Regions from separate parts of the Homo sapiens genome. Here regions 2 and 3 are each linked to region 1. The links are contacts of gene promoters, found by promoter capture Hi-C in blood cells and fetal thymus (Javierre and others, 2016). All regions are on one chromosome and are shown on one strand. Each heading gives the region's core, a stretch centred on a gene start or on the middle of the fragment in contact. The rest is flanking DNA. Distances are from core to core; before and after follow the strand shown. Region 1 holds the start of H4C8 (H4 clustered histone 8). Region 2 has its middle 3.6 kb from the start of ZNF322. Region 3 has its middle 2.8 kb from the start of H4C2.

Region 1 (4,770 bases), core at 1,306-3,805:
TTCAGGACCAGCCTAACCCCATAAGTACTAAAAATACAAAAATTAGCTGCGTGTGGTAGCGCATGCTTGTAATCCCAGCTACTCGGGAGGCTGAGACACTAGAATTGCTTGAACCCAAGCGAGGCGGAGGTGGAATGTGCCGAGATCGCGCCACTGCACTGCAGCCTGGGCAACAGAGCAAGACCCTATCTCAAAAAAAATAACTAATTAAACATCACCTCCTCCCTCCACACGTCTTTAGCCTGTTTCAGTGATAGCACTTAGCACCATCTGATAGTTTCACTTACTTTGCGTGTGAAAGCACACCCAACAGACGCCATGCATACAGAAAATACTGTTTTGTTCACTGTCATTCACTCCTATACTTCTCAGAGCCATGAACAGTACCTGGCATACGTTATGTGCTCAATTTTTGTTGTTAAATTTATATCCTCATACAAACCAGTGCCTTAGCTCTGATAACATCGTTCTTTTCATATTAATGTACAAGTGCATATCTTTAAAAAAGATGAAACCCTAACTCCATTGATTTTCTCGATTTCAAAGTTATAACCCTACAATTTGCTTGCTGACCACAAAGAGGAAAAATCTGATTTTACAATGGAACTATCATCCTAAAGCAGCAATTGTCCTATTATCTTCAACGTAGATAAACCAGACATATGTCTCTGTATAAACTGACAAGCATATTAACCTGATTTCAACTAAGTATATAAAAGTCACTTCTGCTCAGGACAGAGTATAGAAGCCAAGTAAAATGATGCCGTAAGAAAAGCCAATCCAGGCCGGGCGCGGTGGCTCACGCCTGTAATCCCAACACTTTGGGAAGCCGAGGCGGGCGGATCACGAGCTCAAGAGATGGAGACCATTCTGGCCAACATGGTGAAACCCCACCTATACTTAAAAATACCAAAATTAGCTGGGCGTGGTGGCGCGAGCCTGTAGTCACTTGGGAGGCTAAGGCAGTAGAATCGCTTGAACTCGGGAGGCAGAAGTTCCAGTGAGCCGAGATCACGCCACTTCACTCCAGCATGGCGAAGGTGAGACTCCGCCTCAAAAAAGGAAAAAAAAAGCCAATCCAAATCTCCTACAAGTTTGGTCTCTAGCAAATCATTGTCCTGATGCCTGAATGTGTACTTTTTCAAAAGGCGATCATTGCTGGTTAAGAATTTAAGTTTTCGTGGCCGGGCGCAGTGCCTCATGCCTGTAATCCCAACACTTTTGGGAGGTCGAGGCGGGTGGATCACGAGATCAGGAGTTCGAGACCAGCCTGGCCAACATGGTGAAACCCCATCTCTACTAAAAACACAAAAATTAGGCGGGCGGCTGTAATACCAGCTATTCAGGAGGCTGAGGCAGGAGAATCGCTTGAAACTGTAAGGCGGAGGTTGCGGTGAGCCGAAATCGCGCCACTGCACTCCAGCCTGGATGAAAGAGCAAAACTCCGTCTCAACAACAACAAAATAAGTTATGGTGATGTTTCTATATTGCTCACTAAGCGGTACCCTACCTTTTAATATTTTCGTAATATTCAAAAACACATTTTAAGTCTATTGGAAACAATACTTGCAAGCTCTCAAGTGAACATTTATATTGTTACCCCACACTGCCTTTTGTAGACGAGTTTTGTCACCAAGTCAAAAGCAGCAGCGCGCACGCCGCCTGGACTTGGGTCTGCGATCCTACTCACGCAGATGTGTTGCGCTCACGGATTCGCCTTGGTTTAAGGCCCGCCGTCTGGGTGCGAGCTTTCTTTGTTTTTAGCCCTTCCCGCCATTTTGGAAAGGGTAACTTGCAGTCTCTCCGCGAAGTTTCCAACTTCTGTAGTCTTTGAGAACCTTACGAACGCTTCAAGCTTAAACTGAAGGAGGAAGGCCCACGGGAATTATAAACTGTCACAATCCAGCTTACTCACTGATATCTAGTGTTAAAATGCCACAAGAAAGCTAAACATATTCAACATACCAACTTCCCTCAAGCAGAAAACAGTGGCTTTAAGTACTTTATGCCCAAATCCTAAACATGCGAGATTAAGCACGAGTAATTAAACGTTACCTGCAAATCTACACATGTGCACAGTAACTACTTCTCAGCAAAAATCTGGAACAAAGCAGGATAACAAGATGTCTGCTCTTTTATGAAAAAAGTGGGCGGCCCTGAAAAGGGCCTTTGGTTGAAAATGAAAATAAGAGTGCAGCAAGCAGGAGCCTTAGCCACCGAAGCCGTAAAGAGTGCGTCCCTGTCGCTTCAGCGCGTAGACCACATCCATTGCTGTCACGGTCTTGCGTTTGGCGTGCTCTGTGTAAGTGACAGCGTCACGAATCACGTTCTCCAGGAACACCTTCAGAACACCACGAGTCTCCTCATAGATAAGGCCAGAAATTCGCTTGACACCGCCGCGACGAGCAAGGCGCCGGATAGCTGGCTTAGTGATGCCCTGGATGTTATCGCGCAAAACCTTGCGATGACGCTTAGCTCCTCCCTTACCCAAACCTTTTCCACCTTTACCACGGCCAGACATGACTAAGCAACTTCTAAAACCAACTTAAGAAACCTAAACGCCAAGGCAAAGCAACGCCCTTATATGCCGGGAATTCGGACCTAATTGAAGACTGAAAGCGCGCATACCGGAACTTTGGTCCTGCTTCTTGGCCCCACCCCGCATAGCCCAGCCCTGGATGACGTCACCAACGACTCCAGCCTTTGGCATCTGAGCGCCGGCTCCGCGGAGGCGTCTCTTGCAATTGCTGGGAAATAGGAATGAGAGTTTTAAGGCTGTTTTAACAACCAAATCAGATTAAATAAATTAACATGTTTAAATTGTTATCAATTGTTCCTTCAGTTGCTTTAGGACGATTGGAGAGGAGCCTCGGTCCACAAGACCGGAAGCCTGAGGAGTGCAGCTTTGTCCCCAAGGTCACAGTGACTGGCTTTCTGCTGCCGGCTGTAAAGCACATGCGGACCGAAACCCCCCTTCGGAAGTGTTTGAAAACTGCAAGATTTCACCCTCTCCATCACCAAGCCAAGGGAAACATAACCAAAAGGGTTTTCTTCCCGATGGCGAAGGCATGATAGGTTAGTGATTCGTGGTAGAATTATTGCCCTCCGCGCGGAGGCCTGATTCTATTCCCAGTTTGTTCTCTTCTTTCCCTGCTTATTAAAATTTGTAATTGCCATTTAAATATCTAACTGCCCCTCACAACTGCACCCAGTGTGTAGGTTTCGGGGTGGGGGTTTTTTTTTTTCCTTTTTTTAATTTTATTGAGACAGGGTCTCGCTATGTTGCCTGCCTGGGTCTTCCAAAGTGCAGTGACTACAGGCGTGAGCTACCGCGCCTAGCCCACCAGTGTATTGATATTTATTTTTCTATCCCTAGTTTTGTTTTCTGTTTGATTCTGGTGATTCCTTTTTCCAAAGTGAGTTGGCAACCTGTGGTAGCCAAAGAAGTAGGCAACTGCTCGTAGGTTTTTTCTTAAATTACGAGGTAGTCTGAACGCATCTCCTGTAAGTAGTTAAGAGTACTGTGAGACCGTGTGCCTGGCAGAACAGCAGAGTGGCGCAGCGGAAGCGTGCTGGGCCCATAACCCAGAGGTCGATGGATCGAAACCATCCTCTGCTAGGTCCTTTTTTTTTCTCCCCCCCCGTCTATTTTCCTGAGGATCCCTTTTTTTTAAGTTACAGTTTTTTAGGTTAAACAATGACGAAAGAAAACAAAATGAACCCGAGTATTTCTTTAATTCCAGAATTACAAGCATTTCCGGGAAATAATGTGAAACTACAATCTCTGCATGTACAATTTTGATTTTCATGGACACCCAAGTGTCATTAATCAATATGTCATCTGTAAACAAAGCAAATTTCTCTTGTTTAGAGGCTATACCACTGTTGCAGCCAGTTATGACAGTTGTAAGTTAACCTGCCAAGCAAGGAGAATGCTTACATAAACTGAGTGCCAAGGGTGGGGTGGGGTGGGAGCCCAGGAATGGAGTTTTATATCTTTTGATACATAATTCAGAAAGCACTATTTGCCAAGTAGTTAAGGCAATCGACTAGGAATTCCTAAATCCCCACACAGATTCTTTTCACCTACAAGGATCTTAATCTCGGAAAATGAGTTGCATTTTGAGGTGGGTGTGGAGTCTTCATAGCACTGATTGAACTCTGACCTGAGAAAAACATTTTTGCGGACCCTACTGGTAAATGTGTCTCTACTCTCTACCATCCTTTAATATCTCAAATAGAACTATTCGCTGTGCTTATTTTTTAAACATATGTGTGGACTGCTTTATGCTTCTCTCTCTCAGAAAGGATTCCTATTCAGATATTTATGTGTCACATACTGTATTAGGAACTAAGAAAAAAAAAAAACCTTAAGTAGTCTACAGTCTAGATATGCTTTTGTTGTTTTTGTTTTTTGTTTTTTGTTTGTTTATTTGTTTTTGAGATGAAGTCTCACTCTTGTTGCCCAGGCTGGAGTGCAGTGGCACGATCTTGGCTCATTGCAACCTCCACCTCCTGGGCTCAAGAGATTCTCCTGCCTCAGCCTCCCAAGTAGCTGGGATTACAGGTGCCTGCCATCACACTCAGCTAATTTTTGTATTTTTAATAAAGGCAGGGTTTTACCATGTTGGCCAAGCTAGTCTTGAACTCCTAACCTCAGGCAATCCGCCAGCCTTGGCCTCCCAAACTGCTGGGATTACAGGCTTAAGCCAACGCACCTGGCCCATATGCTTTTAAACAAGTAAATATGTAGAGTGCAATACAGTAATT
Region 2 (4,770 bases), core at 1,224-3,723, 380 kb after region 1:
ACTGCATATAACAAGGTCTGAATATGTGTAGAATTGAACTGTTCAACCTTTTCTTTCAGGATACATTGGCCCAAAGTACTCTTTATTAATTGTTTTATTCAGTTAAACATTTATTGAGCACCTCCAATTAACAGGACACCATAGGCCGGGCACGGTGGCTCACGCCTGTAATGCCAGCACTTTGGAAGGCTGAGGCGGGTGGATCACCTGAGGTCGCGAGTTTGAGACCAGCCTGACCAACATGGTGAAACCCTGTCTCTACTAAAAATACAAAATTAGCCAGGCGTGGTGGCGCATGCCTGTAATCCCAGCTACTTGGGAGGCTGAGACAGGAGAATCGCTTGAACCTGGGAGGTGAAGGTTGCAGTGAGCCAAGGGCACTCCAGCCCGGGCAACAAAAGTGAAACTCCATGTCAAAAAGAAACAAAAACCAAAAAAACAGGACACTATGCTGTGTGTTAGGAATTAAAGGCCAGTGAGACTCAATACCACTCCTTTAATGGCTCACAGTCTGGTATGGAGACGGCAGGGGTTTTAGGTGGTGTGGTAGAGGTAGAAGTTGTATAAGGTCATCTGGGGGCATAGAGGTGAAGCACTTTGTAAGAACTTTGAGAAAGAGTCAGAAAAGACTCTGTAGGAGATGAGACATAAGGTGAGACTCGAAGGAATAGAAGTAAGGAGTTGGCTGAAGATGAGCCTGAAATGGAAGATGGAAAATAAGTACAGAGACATTTGAATGTGATTTCAGTTAGTGGAATTTATCTTATATGAAATGGGAAGCAATTCTTGGAATTTCAAGCTGTGGAAATAGGGCAATTATCCCCACATTTAAAATCTTTAGAAAGATTATTTTTAGTTTTAAGTATGAGGATAAAGAGTAAGAAGGAGCAGCCAGGAAATTATGAGGAAAACAAAAGTGGACTACGACAACCAAGGGAGGAGAGTTTCAGTTAAGAGGTTTTTGACCAGACACTGTGGCACATGCCTGTAGCCCCAGCTGCTTGGTAGGCATAGGTGGGGGGATCACTTGAGCCCAGGAGTTCCAGACCAAGCTTGGGCAACATACTTCTTGTGGTTCTGAAGAGGATCTGGCTTTGAGGATAGAGATGAAGGGTATGGAAAGACTATTGTGACTAGAGTTGAGCAAGTGGGAAATTGTGAACTGCAGCCCCTGGAAAGGTGCATTTCAGTATCTTGTTTCCTAGAAGCCAGTAGGTCTGAAACTTCTTTCTGAGATTATCCACTGGAAAGTAGATTGGTCCTATGGAGAGTGTATGTATCTAGGGTTGCCAAATTTAGAAAGAAAAAAGTACAGGAAACCCAGTTACATTTGAATTTTAGATAAACAATAGATTTTAAAAAAGTTTTTAGGGAATATATTTTTCCCATGGGACATACACTAAAAAAATGGTTCATTGTTTATCCGATATTTAAATGTAACTGGGCATCCTGTATTGCATCTGACAATCATATAAGTAGCCTTTGTATGGAAACATATTCTGTGGAAGCAGTTCGTTTATAAGGGGCAGCATTTGTGATAAGATGAGGCAGGGAATTGCAGTTTCCTAGGATTTCTCCTTCTGAGAGAATAAAGAGACATCACCTAAGAGGGTTAGATCATGTGAGTGACTGAACTAATGTGATAAGATCTGATTATGGGAGAGAAAGATTGAGTTATATCTTTAGTTCGGCCAAATATTTGGTAAGAATAAGGACATGGCGATTTGGGAAATAAGAAATATAAGTTTGGACTAATGTCAAGTAGAAGGATAAGAGATTGGAGATCAGGGAAAAGGAGCAGGATCAGGGGACAACATAGGTTTAGTGTATGAATCATATTGAGGTGGAAAGGTAAATTTGAGTAGAAAGTGACGTCAAATAGGTTACTTATATGATCAATTAATGTTGGTTGGATGAACATGATTAGGCAAGCAAGTCAGAGGCATGCAGGGTATGAGTTGGGGTTGGATAAAGTATGGATAGTTGATGAGTTGTAGAGGAAAGTGATCAATGGATTTGAGACTGAGGAGAGAGTTTTTTTTGGAAGGTGTAGATACATTGGAATTCCATTTGAAAACCCTTTAAATTCTTCTTAGACACCATGCAGTCTTTTTATTTTTCTAAATCATTTTCCAAAGTGATTTACACACTAAAAAGGAATACCTTAGACCATGCAATAAAGGACAGACAGATGATCTAAAGAACAGGACATAATCAAGATTTCAGTGGAAATTCCCAAGGTACTTAAGGAAACAACTGGGGTCAGAGGAAGGCTAAAGAATACTATGGCAGGTTTTGGCTATGTTAGAATTTTTCCTGCCGAAATCTAAGCTGAAAGTTTCCACGAAGGAACTCTGAAAAAGAGAAAGTCCTCTTCTGTGTCTCTACGGCAGGCATATTTGCGATTTTTGGGATCCTGATGCATGCACTGTTAATGGAGATTTACAGGAGTCAGACCCAAAATCAACGTTAGTGGCCTCAATTTTTCTTCATCTGCTGCAGCTTGTTACTGAGAGTTCTGGTGATTGTTCCGTACCTGTTACTCCAACTAGATTTTAACTTAGTACAGAAAAGGTCTTTCATCCATGTCATCTCTTCTTTTTTTCTTTGTTTTTTTTTCTTTTTGAGACGGAGTCTCGCTCTGTCGCTCAGGCTGGAGTGCAGTAGCATGATCTCGGCTCACTGCAACCTCCACCTCCCTCATTCAAGCAGTTCTCCTGCCTCAGCCTCCTAAGCAGCTGGGATTACAGGCATGCGCTACCAAGCCCAGCTAATTTTTATATTTTAGTTGAGTTGGGGTTTCACCATGTTGGCCAGGCTGGTCTGGAACTCTTGACCTCAAGAGATCCACCTGCCTTGACCTCCCAAAGTGCTGGGATTACAGGCGTGAGCCACTGTGCCTGGCTTTTTTTTTGAGATGGACTCTTGCTGTGTCGCCCAGGCTGGAGTGCAGTGGCACAACCTCAGCTCACTGCAACCTCCACCTCCCGAGTTTGAGCGGTTCTCCTGCCTCAGCCTCCCAAGTAGCTGGGACCACAGGCATGCGCCATCACACCTGGCTAATTTTTGTATTTTTAGTAGCGACAGGGTTTCACCACGTTGACCAGGCTGGTCTCGAACACCCGACCTCAGGTGATCTGCCCGCCTCGGCCTCTCAAAGTGCTGGGATTACAGGCGTGAGCCACTGCATCCAGCCCATCTCTTCTTAATTTACCTTTTCTCTCATACATTGAATCTATCTGGCTATTCACCATTATTCCTTTTCCTGAATGATGCGTGGCTGCCTTTTCTGTGTTTTCCGTCCAGCTCTCCAGCTTATCTGTTTTACAGTGCTCTACTTTGTCTTTCCATCTTGACTGTTACAAGTTCATAAGACAATACCTCCCTCCCTGAGCTGAGGTAAGAATGAAATGTAGTAATTAATGCAAAGGTATCATCATAGTGACTCGGCATGTAATAGATACCCATTAAAATGTTAGTTCTAGGGCTGGCATGGTGGTTCACACCTGTAATCCCAGCACTTTGGGAAGCCAAGGTGGTGGATTGCTTGAGCTCAGGAGTTCGAGATCAACTCAAGAGCAGCCTAGGTAATGTGGTGAAACCCCATCTTCACCTAAAATACAAAAATTAGTCGAATGTAGTGGTGCACACTTGTGGTCCCACCAACTCAGGAGGTTGAGATGGGAGGATCCCTGGAGTCCTCTGGGAAGTTGAGGCTGCAGTGAGCTGAGATTGTGCCACTACACTTCAGCCTGGGTGACAGAGTGAGACCCTGTCTCAAAAAAAGAAAAAAATTCTTTAAAGCAGGGGTCCCCAACCCCTGGGCCACATACAAGTTAGTTGCTTCTTCAGAACTGGGCTGTACAGTAGGAGGTGAGTGATGGGCAAGTGAGTGAAGCTTCCATCTGTATTTACAGCTGCTCCCCATCACCCGCCTTACTGCTTGAGGTCCACCTCCTGTCAGATCAGCAGTGGCATTAGATTCTCATAGGACCGCGAACCTTATTGTGAATTGCAGATGAGAGACATCTAGATTGCATGCTCCTCATGGGAAGCTAATGTCTGATGATCTGTCACTGTCTCCCATTACTCCCAGATGAGTATTTGAATTACATTTGTAAGCCTCACTGTGCTGTACCTTTTATACTCATAGACTCTGTATCTAAGTTAATGAGACATTTTATGTAAATCCTGCCCAGTGAGTCTAGTCTAGTTGCACAAAGACAAGCTTAGAGCTCCCACTGATCCTACATTATGGGGAGTTCTATAATTATTTAATTATATACTACAATGTAATAATAATAGAAGTAAAGTGCACAATAAATGTAATATGCTTTAATTATCCTAAAACCATCCCCCTCCACCATCTGTGGAAAATTTGTCTTCCACGAAACTAGTCCCTGGTGCCAAAATGGTTGGGAACTGCTGCTCTAAGGGGAACCATGCTCTCTGTTTCTTTTTGGATCCAAAGTTTTCTGAGCCCGTAGATGCCAAACAAGTGCAAAAAAATTTGAAACTTTTTTCTTTTTGAGTCTTTTTTTTTGTCTTTGTCTCTGTCTCTTGATTTTATTATATCTTTGTTTTTCATTTACATTCAGATTTCTCTTTTGCTATTTCTGTTTCCCAAGATTCCTTTCATTCAGCCCATCCTCAAGCAGATATACTTGGAGGACTAGCCTCAAGGGTACTAACACAACCTGAGGAAGGTAAACTGTAAGGAAGTTTAGGTGAACCTAAAGCATATTCCCTGAATAGAGTGAATCTTTCTGA
Region 3 (4,770 bases), core at 1,433-3,932, 260 kb before region 1:
TCAATGTGTAATTAAGATGAATGATACTGAGCTGACATCCTAAAAAGGAAAGATTAGGGGAACTCCAAGTTTGCCCTCCACTCACTACATATGGGTAGGGGAGCAACGATATTCCAACTCTGAAGAAAGAGTGGAAAAAAAGTAGTGTTAAAAATTTGTATTAGTTTCCAAGGGACAAAGAAGCGCTGCCCAATCAATGAGGGCCATTCGTAGCTGTCAACCAATCAGAACTGATGAGCTAATATTTCCTGAGGCAAGCCAGGGAGCCGGAGGGGAAGCTAAGAAGCTTATTGAGAAAAAACAAAAACCCTGTTTTAGGAAAAAAAAAAACCATCTTTTAGCGATTATGAAATAAAATCACAGAGACATTTAAGTATCCCTCAATCATGTACTGAGAGCAATACTAAATTTATCGCCACCAATACAGTTTTACTCTATTAAAAAGACCCTGAAAATTGAAACCCTATTCAGACTCCTGGAATACCCAGGACACTAAATTCAGGGGAGATTAAAATCTGTTTTAGAGAGAAAAGGCACCTTTTTCAGTGTTACCGCGGCCTTCAGCAGTTAACCTTTTTTTTTCCCCCTTTACGCAGAAATGGAAATTTGGGTGATAGAAATATTCCGAAATTAAATTGTGATGATGGTTGTACAACTAAGAAAACACGGTAAAATTCATTGAACTGTACCTAAAGTGGGCAAATTTTGTGGTACATTAAATATCAATAAAGCTGATTATATACATACACATATATTTTTATATATGCAGAGAGAGAAATGATGCAAGCAGGGTGGTAGGACATGAGGTTGGTAGCATAGGCAATGTTGGTCTGTGAAGGGCCACCTGTGCTAAACCTGGAAGCCTGGGGTTTGTCCAGTCAAGCCATGGTAGCCATAGTTTTAAAGGATGTTCCTGATGCAGTTATGTGTTCCAGTTAAGTACATCTAGCTTCAGAACTCAGCTGGAAAAGGGATGTGAACTTCAGGTTAGCTGATAGGGAAATATCTTACTCTCATCTGAGTAAATATTCACAAATGCCTCTCATTGTGCTCTTTTTGGTACCATTGTTATAGGACTGATTTCAGCCTCACGATGTTAGCTTCAGTGATGGATGTCTCTTTATTTTGAGGTCCTGTTTTCCACCTGACAGTTTTCATCCAGGATTTCTTGAGGAATTACACAAGTACCCAGCTTGGCTTAATTTAAAACTGACAATGGAGAGAATTCATAGCTGCATTCTGGATAGTTTCAGGAATCAGAGGAGCAAAAATGAGCCTGGTATGGAGGGTGGGTCATTTTATGTCTTTCTTAGTTGGTATTTTAAAGATATTTATTGATCTCATATGCCAGATATTGTTGAAATCATTGGGGTACATAAGTTAGAAAATTTTAATTCCCTTTCCTGAATTCCAGAGTCAATGTAGAGGGGTGTGTGGATATCGATTACCCATATGGGAGGTATAGTCGTTGTAACAATAAGCCACGACTAGCTCCTGTTACGTTTTGCCTGGCCTTTCATAGCATTGCTATGTTCATAGCATTGCTGATATGTCATACTCATCTTAGGCATACCCACCACCACCTTGGGCCTTCTTCAGTCCTAACACTCATGCAGTCCTTGTTCAGAACAAAGATAATGTTGCTTAATTTGCAACCCCTAGACTATCCCCCAGATTTTCTAAAGAGAAACTGCACGCTGATTGCTTCAGGCAGTGGCAGGTCAAGGAATGAGATGGGGAATTGATTGTGTTAGCATTCTGGTGGGCTTAGTGGAGAGCCTGGAGACTTACATAGAAAATTCACACATCCTTTCATTCAACAAACCTCCATAAACTACCTGTTAAACGTCAGCCCTGTTCAAGGTGCTAGGGATACTTCTGGGACAAAACAAAGTCCCTACCTTCAAAAAATATATTCCAGTTGGGGGAGAGAGAACAAACACAAAATAAAATATATCTAGTTATATGTATTTTTTGTTAAATATATTATTACATATATAATTCTAGGTGGGGAAATGTTATATATATATGCTATTGAGGATAGTCAACTATATATATATATGCTAAATGAGCAGAAAAGCTTATTTTACAAGGGATGATTATGGGAGGTCTCTTTCGTAAGGTTGGTATTTGAGGAGAGGCTTGAATGAAATGAGATCTAGAGCCATTCAGATATCCAGGACAAGACCCTTCTAGGGAGAAAGAATAGATATAAAGGTGCTGATGCTGGAAATGCTTGGTCCATTCCAGAAACAGCAAGGTCAGTGAAGAGAAAGAACTGCGAAGAGAATGAGGTCAGAGGGTAGCCAGAGTACAGATCTAGTAGGTTGAGCAGCTCATCCTAGTTTGCTTGGAACTTTCTAAGTTTCAGCACTGTAAGTCTTACACCCTGAGAAACCCCTGAGAGTCAGGCAAACTGTAATGGTTGGTCATCTTACTTGTAGGCTATGATAAGGATGCTGGTTTTTATTATGAAGGTGATGGAAAGCCAGTGGAATCTTTTCAGCAGACAGTGGACATAATACCTTCAAAAAGGATCACTGTTGATGCTGGATAGAGAAAAAACTGTATGACAGGGGGATTAAAAGTGAAAACAAAGACCAGTTTGGGGTCACTGTGGTCATTCAGACAAACCGCCATGGCAGCTTGCTCCTAGAGAAGCAGCAAAGAAAACAATGAAAGGTATTCTGATTGATTTTCAACAGAGCTGACTGCATTGGGTGAAAGTTGTAAGAAGCTCAGGACAAACAATATTGCACAATTCCTGGCCCAAGCTGCTTGAAGAATGGAGTTCTATTGATTGACATGACAAATATCAGAGGAAGAACAGACTTGGTGTTTACGTATAAACATATTTTGGACAAGTTCGAGATGCCCATTATTCAATTAGATACATCAAATATGCAGTTGTATATGAGTCTAGAGATTTAAGGTCAGGGAGATGGTTTATAATTGCAAACACTTATTTAGAGACACAGTTTCACTCTTGTCTCCCAGGCCTAAGTGTAATAGCGCGATCTCAACTCACTGCAACTTCTGCCTCCCGAGTTCAAGCTATTCTCCTGTCTCACCCTCCCGAGTAGCTTGGATTACAGTCGCCCGCAACCATGCCCAGCTAATTTTTTTTTTTTTTTTAGTAGAGACGGGGTTTCACAATATTGGCCAGGCTGGTCTCGAACCCCTGACCCCAGGTGATCCACCAGGCTCAGCTTTCCAAAGTGCCGGGATTACAGGCGTGAGCCACCTTGCCGGGCCTATATTTCTTAAGCTCTATGTTTCGTTCTGAAGCTTGAAGTGGGTGGAAGCAAACTGATAGAATTTGGAGAGGTGGTTAGGCATCCCGGGAATGAGAAACAGCCCGAAGCTGCCACTATCACAGGCTTTGGCATTGCTAGAAGTTAACGTGGCACTTACAGCTAGGCCGTGGTGTTCTGTTGAACAAACTATTTGACAGAGCACAGAGCATGTAAGTGGTGAGGCCAGTTGAGTTAGCCAAGAAAAGAGGAGTCCAAGAACTGAGCCAGAGTACACCAGAGTATGTAGTGGAGTACAGCTTTCTCATTCTTTAGTAGGGCTGTGTAGAGAAATACTCTATTTTATGGATGTATAGATCACTCTAGTCCTTTCTGATGAAAACTTTACAGTTGCCACTCATTTACTATTACAAACAATGCTGCACTACATTATGTTTCAGTTTTTAGCCATCTCATCTGGTCTCAGCATTTATTTATCTGCTGATGACTCACACATTTTTATCTCCAGCTCAGACCTCTCACCCGAACTCACTTATTCAACTGCCTATTCACTATATCCTCCTGTCAGGAGAAGCTTGTTAGCAAAGTAACCAGAAAACAAAGTTGATTTTTTTTGCTGAAGTAGCCATCAATATATTTGTTACTAAATCAAAGATGCTGAATATTTGGCTGACTTCTAAAAATCTGGTCACCTAACTTTGACACTTCCTAGGTCGTACAGTTTGAAACTTTCACAATTAAATCAGTTTTGGAATTTACAATTTAAGGCAGGAATAGAAGACTATTGGGTTGACAGGTACAGTGAAGATGCAAGTCATCTGAGAATCTTACATCAGAGGGGGCTTCCATCTTATAGCTGCTGCCACGGACCTCGGAGTCAGAAGAAATTTGAGTCCTTATTTATAAAACAGACTCCCTTAGTCTACTAAGTGGGAATTTACGAACTGCGTAGGCAGCCTGCTTAGGGGAGCCTCCAGCCTGAGGACTGAAAATAGCAAAGCAGCTTTAACCGCCAGTCCTACTCCAGAGAAGGGGGAGGTGACGTCACTCAGCAGGACGCCAAGCTCAACTAGAAATGGAAGTAAAGGCTTCTGGCGCTACCGGCAGGGGGCGGTTAAGGACGGCAGGTGTTACCAGGGAAGCTAAAAGTACAGCTTTTGCTGACGTTAAGTCAGATACGCCTGGGAAAACAGACCTGACACCCATTTTAATCCACCTACTCAGTTCCAGGCAGCTAGCATCTTAGGCTCTCGTACAAATAACGCACAACTCGTTTTTAAAACTAAAAAGCTGAGCTACTCATTTATCGGACTCGCGCTGCACGTTAAGTTGCTTGACATGTCAAAACTATAGCATTGAAGTTTATAGCTCACTTATCTCGGAGACCTCGTTTACTTAGCTGATTTCTGCTTTAGCAGCCACTCAGACCAAACAACCTGGTCTCTCCCAACTGGTTTATAATAGTTCTACATACTAGGCAGAATAGCCGAGTAAAGCCATTGAGATGTTACCATCC

Evidence for each region. Contacts are between HindIII fragments. The CHiCAGO score rates a contact against its expected background, and 5 or more counts as called.
Region 2: a contact is called between a fragment that was not itself captured here and the fragment with the promoter of H4C8 in region 1, in 1 of 17 cell types (neutrophils). The highest score is 5.6, in neutrophils.
Region 3: a fragment that was not itself captured here is called in contact with the fragment with the promoter of H4C8 in region 1 in 2 of 17 cell types (M0 macrophages and monocytes); the score reaches 6.8 in M0 macrophages.

What each region holds. Positions count from the first base shown.
Region 1 is chr6:26,282,979-26,287,748 of GRCh38, forward strand. It overlaps H4C8 (H4 clustered histone 8), which reads right to left and starts at 2,556. Exons shown (of 1, transcript NM_003543.4): 1 at 2,148-2,556. The coding sequence starts at 2,521. The coding sequence ends at 2,210. It overlaps TRX-CAT1-2 (tRNA-iMet (anticodon CAT) 1-2), which reads left to right and starts at 3,548; the gene lies at 3,548-3,619. It overlaps LOC124901287 (a long non-coding RNA gene), which reads left to right and starts at 2,702. Exons shown (of 2, transcript XR_007059520.1): 1 at 2,702-3,075. RefSeq lists enhancers at 1,397-2,132, 1,841-3,040, 2,133-2,868, 2,247-2,406, 2,557-2,946 and a silencer at 3,287-3,336. The HindIII fragment of the contact is 3,784 bases long and covers 1,854-4,770 here.
Region 2 is chr6:26,660,965-26,665,734 of GRCh38, forward strand. No RefSeq gene overlaps it. Among named protein-coding and RNA genes, the nearest start is that of ZNF322, 3.6 kb to the left of the region's middle. The HindIII fragment of the contact is 2,846 bases long and covers 1,051-3,896 here.
Region 3 is chr6:26,022,091-26,026,860 of GRCh38, forward strand. No RefSeq gene overlaps it. Among named protein-coding and RNA genes, the nearest start is that of H4C2, 2.8 kb to the right of the region's middle. RefSeq lists enhancers at 1-322, 1-153, 3,571-3,865. The HindIII fragment of the contact is 1,208 bases long and covers 2,079-3,286 here.